Linked DNA regions of Homo sapiens: regions 1 and 3 are each linked to region 2. Evidence: promoter capture Hi-C in 16 types of primary human blood cells and fetal thymus (Javierre and others, 2016). All regions are on one chromosome and are shown on one strand. Each heading gives the region's core, a stretch centred on a gene start or on the middle of the fragment in contact. The rest is flanking DNA. Distances are from core to core; before and after follow the strand shown.

What was found. Contacts are between HindIII fragments. The CHiCAGO score rates a contact against its expected background, and 5 or more counts as called.
Region 1: a contact is called between the fragment with the promoter of PRRX2 here and a fragment that was not itself captured in region 2, in 8 of 17 cell types (naive CD8 T cells, naive CD4 T cells, activated CD4 T cells and 5 more). The highest score is 7.2, in naive CD8 T cells.
Region 3: a contact is called between the fragment with the promoter of PTGES here and a fragment that was not itself captured in region 2, in 2 of 17 cell types (naive CD8 T cells and non-activated CD4 T cells). The highest score is 5.6, in naive CD8 T cells.

The regions. Positions count from the first base shown.
Region 1 is chr9:129,664,290-129,667,435 of GRCh38, forward strand. PRRX2 (paired related homeobox 2) reads left to right here and starts at 1,358. Exons shown (of 4, transcript NM_016307.4): 1 at 1,358-1,837. The coding sequence starts at 1,579. The HindIII fragment of the contact is 25,989 bases long and covers 1-3,146 here.
Region 2 is chr9:129,126,404-129,129,505 of GRCh38, forward strand. PTPA (protein phosphatase 2 phosphatase activator) reads left to right here. Exons shown (of 10, transcript NM_178000.3): 4 at 2,582-2,707. Among named protein-coding and RNA genes, the nearest start is that of PTPA, 17 kb to the left of the region's middle. RefSeq lists an enhancer at 443-1,365. The HindIII fragment of the contact is 7,662 bases long and covers 1-3,102 here.
Region 3 is chr9:129,751,394-129,754,306 of GRCh38, forward strand. PTGES (prostaglandin E synthase) reads right to left here and starts at 1,649. Exons shown (of 3, transcript NM_004878.5): 1 at 1,494-1,649. The coding sequence starts at 1,619. The HindIII fragment of the contact is 13,279 bases long and covers 1-2,913 here.

The DNA.
Region 1 (3,146 bases), core at 108-2,607, 540 kb after region 2:
GATTCCTTTCCAGCGCGGGAGGGGGTGGGGGCGGACACAAACAACACACGCTGTGAGGATTAATGTATTATAATGTATTGCTAGGCTTTCCTTAAAAATAGTGTTCCCGGCTGGGTGCGGTGGCTCACGCCTGTAATCCCAGCACTGTGGGAGGCCGAGGCAGGTGGATCACCTGAGGTCAGACGCTGGAAACCAGACTGGCCAACATGGTGAAACCCCTCCTCTACTAAAAATACAAAAATTACCCGGGCATGGTGATGCACACCTGTAATCCCAGCTACTCGAGAGGCTGAGGCAGGAGAAGCGCTTGAAGTCAGGAGGCGGAGGTTGCAGCGAGCCGAGATCACGACACTGCACTCCAGCCTGGGCGACAGAGCCAGACTCTTGTCTCAAAAAAATAAAAATAAATAATAATAATAAATAATAAATAAAAATAATGGTCCGCAGGCTTTCAGGGATGTGTGCGGGCCGGTTTTCCATATGGGAACAGGGAAAGGATGTGCTGAAGGCTTCCTCCGGTAGGCGACTTTGGCTGATGTGACTTTATGCCTCGTAGTGAGGGCAGGGCGACAGAGGGACGGGCCGGTGAGCGGCTGTCCTGGAGAAAGAGCAGTGGCATCCGGGGGGCTTAGGGTCTCAGGTCTGCTCACTCCGCACATCTTTTCTGTGCTTTCATTGAAAAACAAAACTGAAACAAGAGCGGACACCTAAGTCTGCCTCTCTCTTTCCTGTCACCCGTCTCAGGCTGGCTGTCCTCTGTGTGTGCGCCAGGAATTCTGCAACGAAGCGCCTGCCTCTCCGCTTGGTTTTCCTTGGGGAAGGGCCTGGGGCCTCCTGGGGGGTGGGCACCGGGTGTGTGGGTGTGTGTGGGGGACCTGGCAGGGAGCAGCGGGGGAGAGGCGGGGTGGGGGGTCGCGTACACCCCAGGAGCCTGAGGATGCGCTGCCTGCTGGGAGAGACAGCCTTGGGGCGGGTGGTGTGCACAGAGCTCTGTCGGCCAGCGCGGGCGGGCGGGGCCGTTGTTGGGGGCGCTGAGGCGAGTGAGGCTGGAGCTGGGAGTGGGGGGCTCGTCGCCTTCGTCTCTGGGCCGCCCCCTCCACCTGCGGAGGCGATTGTAAAGGGAAGGGGGGAATCCCTCTGCCATCACCTCCCAGATACTTGGGGGATGGAAAACGACAAAACACGGAACCTCCCACTCCCTAAAAAGTGGGTGGGGAGGGTGAAGGGAGGACACCCCTTCCCCGCCCCCAGCGCCAGCAGCCGGGGTGGGGGCGGGCGAGGCGCGCGGGGAGGAGAGGGCGGAGGAGAGGACGGGGGGCGAGGTTTGCTTCAAGAAGGGGCGTGTGGCCGGCGCAGCGCGTGCACCAGCGGCTCCGGAGCGAGCGGCCGTGGCTGAGAAGGGGAGGGCGGAAAGTTTGTTTCCCCGACGTCAGCGCCGGGCGGGCCGCGAGGCTAGGAGGCGGCGGGAGCTGGGCAGAGCGCGGGGCGGCCGGGGCTCTCGCTCCGACCCGCGCCCGCGACCCTTCCTGGGACCCGAGCCCGAGACCCCCGCCGGCCCCCCCGGGGCCGCTCGCGGGCATGGACAGCGCGGCCGCCGCCTTCGCCCTGGACAAGCCGGCGCTGGGCCCGGGGCCGCCGCCGCCTCCACCCGCGCTGGGGCCCGGCGACTGCGCCCAGGCGCGCAAGAACTTCTCGGTGAGCCACCTCCTGGACCTGGAAGAGGTGGCGGCGGCCGGGCGGCTGGCGGCGCGCCCCGGGGCCAGGGCCGAGGCGCGGGAGGGCGCAGCACGGGAGCCGTCCGGGGGCAGCAGCGGCAGCGAGGCGGCGCCGCAGGATGGTGAGTACGGCCGGCCAGGGACGGGGGTGGCGGGGCCGGGGCCGGGGCCGGGGCCGGGGCGCGGGGTCCGGGGAGCCGGCGCGGGGCGGGCGAAGATGCAGGGCGCGTGGTCGGCGGCAGGACTTCTGGGGGCGCGTGTAAGTGACGGTGGACGGCGGTTGACCAGCACTCTGGGCTGGGGGAGGGGGACCCTCTTCGGGTCTTGGGGTGCGTCCCCACGGGGAAGTGCGCTGCCTTCGCTCCCCAGTATTCGGCTCCCGAACAGCCTGGGAAGTGGGTGTGGCTGCTGCCGGGTTACAACTGGGGAAACAGAGACCTGAGTCGGGCAAAGCCGCTGAGCTGCACGTTGGGGTTTCAAACCCGCCCCCTCCCGCACGAGCTAGCGCCGCCCCAGCTCCTCCTCGGTCTTAAGTTGGGCTCTTTGGGGGGCGAGGGTGCCTGCCCACCCCCCCCCACCCTCCAGTTTGCCCCGGGAGCAGCTGCCTCGGTGGAACGGCCCAGCCAGGCCTCTCTTCCCCGGCAGAGGTCAAAGGTCATCAGGAAGGGGCTTTAAAAACAAACAACCCACCCAAGTGGCCTTTTTCAAAAAGTGACACAGGATGGCAGGGTCCTGAGCCCTTGGTAAGAAGGGGAGGGACGGGGAGAAGATGGAGAAAAAGCAAAGGCCCCAGCCCCGGACGGTTCAGTGGGGGAGGGGAGGACCGGAGTCCTCGCGGCTCAGCACACACTAAGGATGGGGGCCCGGTGATCTGAAACCAGGCCCCTGTCCCCTAGCTCTGGGGATGGGCCGGCCTGCTGGGGGCTCTGGGCCCCTGAAGTGTGCCCGCCTGACTCCAGCAGCCCTCCCACCCGCCCCGGGGGACCCTGTTCCCGGCACCAGCCTCCAGGTCTCAGGGTGCCCAGGCTGGTGGCTGCGTTCCTTGGCTTTTCAGAGACAGGAGGTGCAGGGAAAACAGAGGTGGCTGCAGCCTAGTCTGAATCCATGTGCGTCCACGAGGACGCCTGCGACACGCCTGCCTTTCACGGGGCACCTTCTGCCAGCCTGTGGCTGAGATGAAGCCACTGGCTCCCTCATGGCAGCGGCCACCACTCACTGGCCACAGTGGACTGGCCACTGGCTGCACCCTCCGGGGTGAGTGTGAAGCCAGCAGACCTCCCAGGAGTTGGGGTTTAGCTCCTCAGTAGAAAAGGGGAGGGAGATGTCCACTCTGGCCCGGAGGAAAGCAGGTGCCCTCTGGTTTGTGCTGGGGGAATGCCCTGCCGGCCCAAGGTCATTTGAGGACCTCAGCGGCTCTGAGCCGGTCCCCCA
Region 2 (3,102 bases), core at 513-3,012:
TCCCGAACTCAGGTGATCTGCCCGTCTTGGCCTCCGTAAGTGCTGGGATTACAGACGTGAGCCACTGTGCCTGGCCAGCTAGCTCTTATTTTAAATGATGCCTGTCCTCCTCTTATGGGGGTTAACATTTTCGATTTTTGCAAAATAAATGTGATAAGAGATTTATTTTTGTTGTTGTTGTTCTGTTTGCTTTTTTAAAACTTACAAGGGGGCAAAATTCAAAAATGGTCAGTAAAATGTTAGGGAAGATTTTACTGGTCCTTGAAATCCAAAAAGGAAACACTGGCCTAGGGAGAATGGGAGAGCTGGAGTTGTTCTTTGTGCCTCGAAGGTGTTTCAGCCCCAGTTCCCTTTCTTTCAGCCCTTCTCTCCCAACACAGCAAACAATAGAGGCAGCCCCTACAACATTCAAAAAGCCCTCTCCTGAAGAGGAGCTGGGAGCCTTTGAATTATTCATTGGCCCAGCTGAGCTAGCAGCTGGGGCCTGGCTCCTGTGACTCCGTCTTCTCTGTCCCCTTCAGTGCCTCGCCTAAGACTGAGATCCCTGGGGAATCTGGGGCTGACTAGTGCTTCCTGGGGCCAAGATGACTGTGCCATCCATTGTAAGCCCCCGTTTCTGCATGGGTTAGGTCTGGCCTGTGCTTATCAGCCATTCCTGGTTTTTCACAAAGCCAGGCTCTGGCAGCGCTCTCACATTTCAGCAAGGCAGCTTTATGCCATCCTAGCCCTCTGCCTTAGCCAGGTGTAAAGGGAAATTTATCCTCTTACAGGCTACTTTTTCTGTCCTCCCATGCCCCAAGCCTAGATAAAGGGGAGATAAGAGAGAGCAGCACTCAGGGCCGGTTTCACATATGCAGCTGGGGGCATGGCCAGCCTGTTTCATTAGCTTAAGCCTGCCTCTCCCCAGGTACATACATAGCTCTTGGCTGAGTCTTTGCACATGGCAGGCCTGGTCTGCCTTGCCCTCCCAGGCGCAACTTCTCATGTGGGCATCACCCTGCTAGTTCTTACCCAGTGCCAGGATTTCCTGTAAGTTTCTTATGCCGTTTGTTTCCATAGACACAGGCAAGATCCACTTCCTGGCAGGGACTCTTTTCTCAGGACTGAATGGCTGCAGATAGCCTCCGCGTTGTATTTTCCACCGGCCCTGGTGCTGGGCTATTTCTAAAAGCCAACCTGGAAGGAGCACCTTCTAACTGATCTTTGGGTTGGATAGACAGCCACCCGATTTCTTCATTGAGTAACATTTTATGTGCCAATGCTGCCCGCACCTCTGACTCCGATTCTACTTCTTGGTCCCTGTCTTCTGTGGGAAAGGTGTAGGGGGATGGGCTCTCAAACTCTGCCACCCTACAAAGCATTGCACACGATGATCTGGCATTTCCACAAAGATTGAGTTGCAAGCTGATTTACCATAGCATTGTGTATGAAATAGGTAGTGAAACAGGTGGAAATAACCCAAACATTTAACAGTGAGGAATTAAATTAATTATAATGCAGTGGCACGATGAAATGTTATTCACTTAGTAAAAGTTGTCATAAGATTATGTTTATATGTAGATGTGGAATGAGGTTCATGAGGAAAAGGAGCAGGCTGCAAAGCAGAGTGTGTCCTGCGATGAATGCATACCATTACCCCGCGCCGGGCACTGTGCACCTTCGGAGGTATTTATCATCAGCCCCATTTTTTAGACGAAGAAACTGAGAGGCTCAGAGTTAGTCACTTGCTCAAGGTCTCACAGCAGCTAAATGGTGTTTTAGCTGGGGTTTGAATCCAGGCCCACCATGCTAAACCATGTAAAACACTATGAGAAGATAACACAGAAGGGTATGTTAAAATGTTTAGTGTAGGCCAGGCACGGTGGCTCACGCTTGTAATCCCAGAACTTTGGGAGGCCGATGCAGGTGCATCACTTGAGGTCGGGAGTTTGAGACCAGCCTGACTAACATGGAGAAACCCCATCTCTACTAGAAGTACAAAAATTAGCTGGGCGTGGTGGTGTGCGCCTTTAGTCCCAGCTACTTGGGAGGCTGAGGCAGGAGAATCGCTTGAACCTGGGAGGCAAAGGTTGCAGTGAGCCGAGATTGCACCACTGCACTCCAGCCTGGGCAACAAGAGCGAAACTCTGTCTCAAAAAAAAAAAAAAAAAGTTTAGTGTATTTCTGGGTGGCAGGATTACTGGTCATTTTCATTTTCTTCTGTTTATATTTCTATTTTTTATGATGAGTAGGTATTGCATACTGAACAAAAGGCTTCCATAAAGTCTTTTTAAAAAGATGTCAGGGCTGGAGTTAGCTTCTCTATAGCAGCAGCCCATGGGTAGGCTGCCTACAGAAACCAGGTGCTAAAGCCACCCCGTCCCTGTCCCATCAGCCTAGTGTGCTTCCCTCTCTGGAAAGCCTATCATGCTCTCCTGACCCTCCTTCATATTCAGAACAGTGGGGAAGAAAGAGGGATGGGGGAGAGTTCCCAGTAGGGGCCATGCCAAGGGGTCATTGTCTGGCAGCAGTGGACTTCCCTCTGTGGCTAAGCGGGAGCCACTTGCTCTGTAGCTTGGACCCCTCTATTTTGCCTCCACAGGCCATTGAGAAACTAGTCGCTCTTCTCAACACGCTGGACAGGTGGATTGATGAGACTCCTCCAGTGGACCAGCCCTCTCGGTTTGGGAATAAGGCATACAGGACCTGGTATGCCAAACTTGATGAGGTGAGGCTGCCACAGGACAGGCCAGGGACTGGGCTGGCAGTGAGGGTGGTTCTGGCACCAGTTGGGGAAGGGCCTGCATTGTATAGCGCTTCTAGGCATATACAAATCTCAGTTTGTTAAAATGTCAATTTCACTTAGCAAAATTACAAATGAGTTTATACTCTGCTTGGTCATCTTCTGGGAAACACGACTGTGCACATACGGCCCTCTGCACTACAAGGCTGTTTATTAAGTCACTGTATTACAGCAAACTGGAAATGTTCCAAGTATCCATCTGTAGGGGATTATTTAAATAAATTAGTCCATCAATATCATGGAGTACTGTGCAGCTATAAAAAGGAATTTTTTTTATTTTTTATTTTATCTTTTTTTTTTTTTAGACGGAGTCTCGCTGT
Region 3 (2,913 bases), core at 399-2,898, 620 kb after region 2:
CTCAGCCAGGTGCGGTGGCTCACGCCTGTAATTCCAACACTTTGGGAGGCTGAGGCGGGTGGATCACCTGAGGTCAGGGGTTCAAGACCAGCCTGGCCAACATGGTGAAACCCCATCTCTACTAAAAATACAAAAATTAGCAGGGCATGGTGGTGTGTGTCTGTAATGCCAGCTACCGGGGAGGCTGAGGCAGTAGAATTGCTTGAACCCAGGAGGTGGAGGTTGCAGTAAGCAGAGATCATGCCGCTGCACTCCAGCCTGGACAGCAGAAAAAAAAAACAAAACAGAAACCCCCGCCTCCAAGACAGGATGTGGGCTCTGAAGCTGGACACTGGAGTTCAAACCGGGCTGTGTGACCTTCATAAGTGATGTCTCCTCTCTGAGCCCAGGTTCCTCACCTAGAAAACAGGATGACTATGGCGCCTCCCCTGCCCTCAGGGCTGTGGCGGGGATCTCATGCTCAGCTCCGGGCCACATTCGGTCCTCTGGGAAGGATTCAATGAGTGAATGCAGCTGTTCTACTTGATGCCCGGATCCCATATCCCAGGACCAGCCAAGGCAGGGAGAAGTCAGAAGCTATCAGTGTGCTGTAGCCTCCGGGCATCCTATCACTTGGGCAGCTGCCCTGCCTTTAATCCTGCCTGTACCTGCAGCAGGGCCTGAGCCTGGCTTGTGGCCAAGATCCTCACTCCCCAGGATCCACCCGCATGCAGTGCCAGAGCCAGCCTTGCCTCACCTCGCCTTTGAACTGGACACAGGGGAAGACAGAGACAGTTTCAGGAAATGATTGCTTTATTAAAATACCTGGGGAGGAAGTAACAGGTGCCTGGGGTCTTTCTGCATTCTGCCGCCAGGACAGCCGACAAGCTCAGCCTATGACTTTGCAGACTCGCCAACCAGTGTGACGGACGCTACTGGAACTTGCCCCGGCCCAGCTCTGGGACTCGTTAATGTTGTTTTGGTTCAGGGGCTCGGATTAGTGGGGAAATTCCTCGCTGAGCACCCCGACGGTGCCCGGCTGGGAGCTGGCCTTTGGAGGCTACAGTGGGCTTGTTAGTGACATTTGCCAGGAGTTGGGAATTTCCACTTAAACGTTTCTCGGACTCCTGTTTTGCCGGTTCCCACTCCACCCAGATATCAGACCTCCCGTGCCGGGAAGCCACCAGGTTAGACAGAGGCTTTGTGCTGTCACGCTCCCACACTCCACCCTCCAGAACCTGCTTCTCTCACAGACACTCGCTGGCTCTCTCCATGCCAAGAACTCAGCCCGGTGGCACGGCAAGCGAGTAAGTGCTCTTAAGCCAGAGAGGAGAAGGTGCAGGCCTTGCTGACACGTGGGACTGGCAGGAAGCCCCCCGGCGGGGCTGGAAGAGGTGCTCACCTCCCAGCCCTGCACACACCTTGGCCATGTTTCCCTATCCCGGGGCTTTCCTGACAGGACGTGGAGAGAAGCAAGTATGACCCAGGCCGGGGACCCCCAGGGAGGCACATACCTTCTTCCGCAGCCTCACTTGGCCCGTGATGATGGCCACCACGTACATCTTGATGACCAGCAGCGTGCTGCAGAGCAGGAAGGCCGGGAGGGCCGGGCTGCTCATCACCAGGCTGTGGGCAGGCATCTCTGGCCAGCGCAGCTCAACTGTGGGTGTGATCAGCTCGACAGAGGAGCAGCCTGCAGGGAAAGCACAAAGTGGGAGGGGAGAGCCTTCCTGCAGCCAGCACCGCCCACGCCCCGCCCCACGGCAGCGGCAGCAGGGCCCCCTTCTCCTGTGAAGAGAAAGACAAGCAGTTGCCGGAGCTCCAAGAAGCAGAGAGTCTCCGGGTGTCCCGGACCCAGTCCCTGGCTCTGGAGCCCTCCTTCCAGGCAAATCCTCAAACACTTTCAAATCTGTTTCAAAGCTGTTTCCTTATCTACAGTGTGGGAGCATGTGGTGGTGCCTGCCTTCTAGGGAATGATGAGGCTGGGCACCTGGCAGGACCTCTGCACGTGGTGATTATCGCTGCCTCCTGCCCACCTCCGCAGGGTCAGGGTAGGTGGTGGGCATGAGAACCACGCCATGCGCCCCCACACTCAGCCTGGACAATGGAGCTGCAGCCACAATGGCATGACTTTGCCATCTGTGGCAGGCTGAAGGACGCCCTCCACCCCTAAAGACATCCATGTCCCAATCCCTAGAACCCGTGACTGTGACTATGTGGCAAAAGGGACTTTTCACATGGGATTTCGTAAGGATTTGAGATGGGAGAAATTATCCTAGTTTATCTGGGTGAGCCCAGAGTATACAGAGGGGCCCTTCCAAGAGGGAGGCAGTAAAATTAGAGAAAAGATATAAAAACAGAGGCAGCATTAAGAGAGGAGATGAAAGGACAGAATAGGGGTCAGACAGGAGAGACGCTAACCTGCTGGCCTTGAAGATGAAGGAGAGATCATGGCCCAAGGAATACCAGGGGCCTCTAGAAACTGGAAAAGGGGACGAAACAAACTCTCTGCGTTCAGACAGAACGCAGCCCTCCCGACACTTTGATTTTAGCCCTGTGAGACCCATTTCAGGCTTCATCCACCAGAACTGTCAGAGAATGAAGCTGTGTTGTTTTAAGCCACTAAGTCTGTGGTAATTTGCTATAGCAGGGATGGGGAACCAGCACGTGGCTCCACTGACTTCCTGAGCATCACTTGACTATCCTGGAACTCTTTCCCCAGTCAAATGCTTTGATTCTTCATCACAAGATCTCCCCGAAAGACCTATCAACTGACTCTTCAGTAGAAAGCATCACCAGGCCGGGCGCGGTGGCTCACACCTGTAATTCCAGCCCCTTGGGAGGCCAAGGGGGACAGATTACCTGAAGTCAGAAGTTCAAGACCAGCCTGGGCAACATAGGGAGACTCCGTCTCTACAAAAAAATGTTTTAATT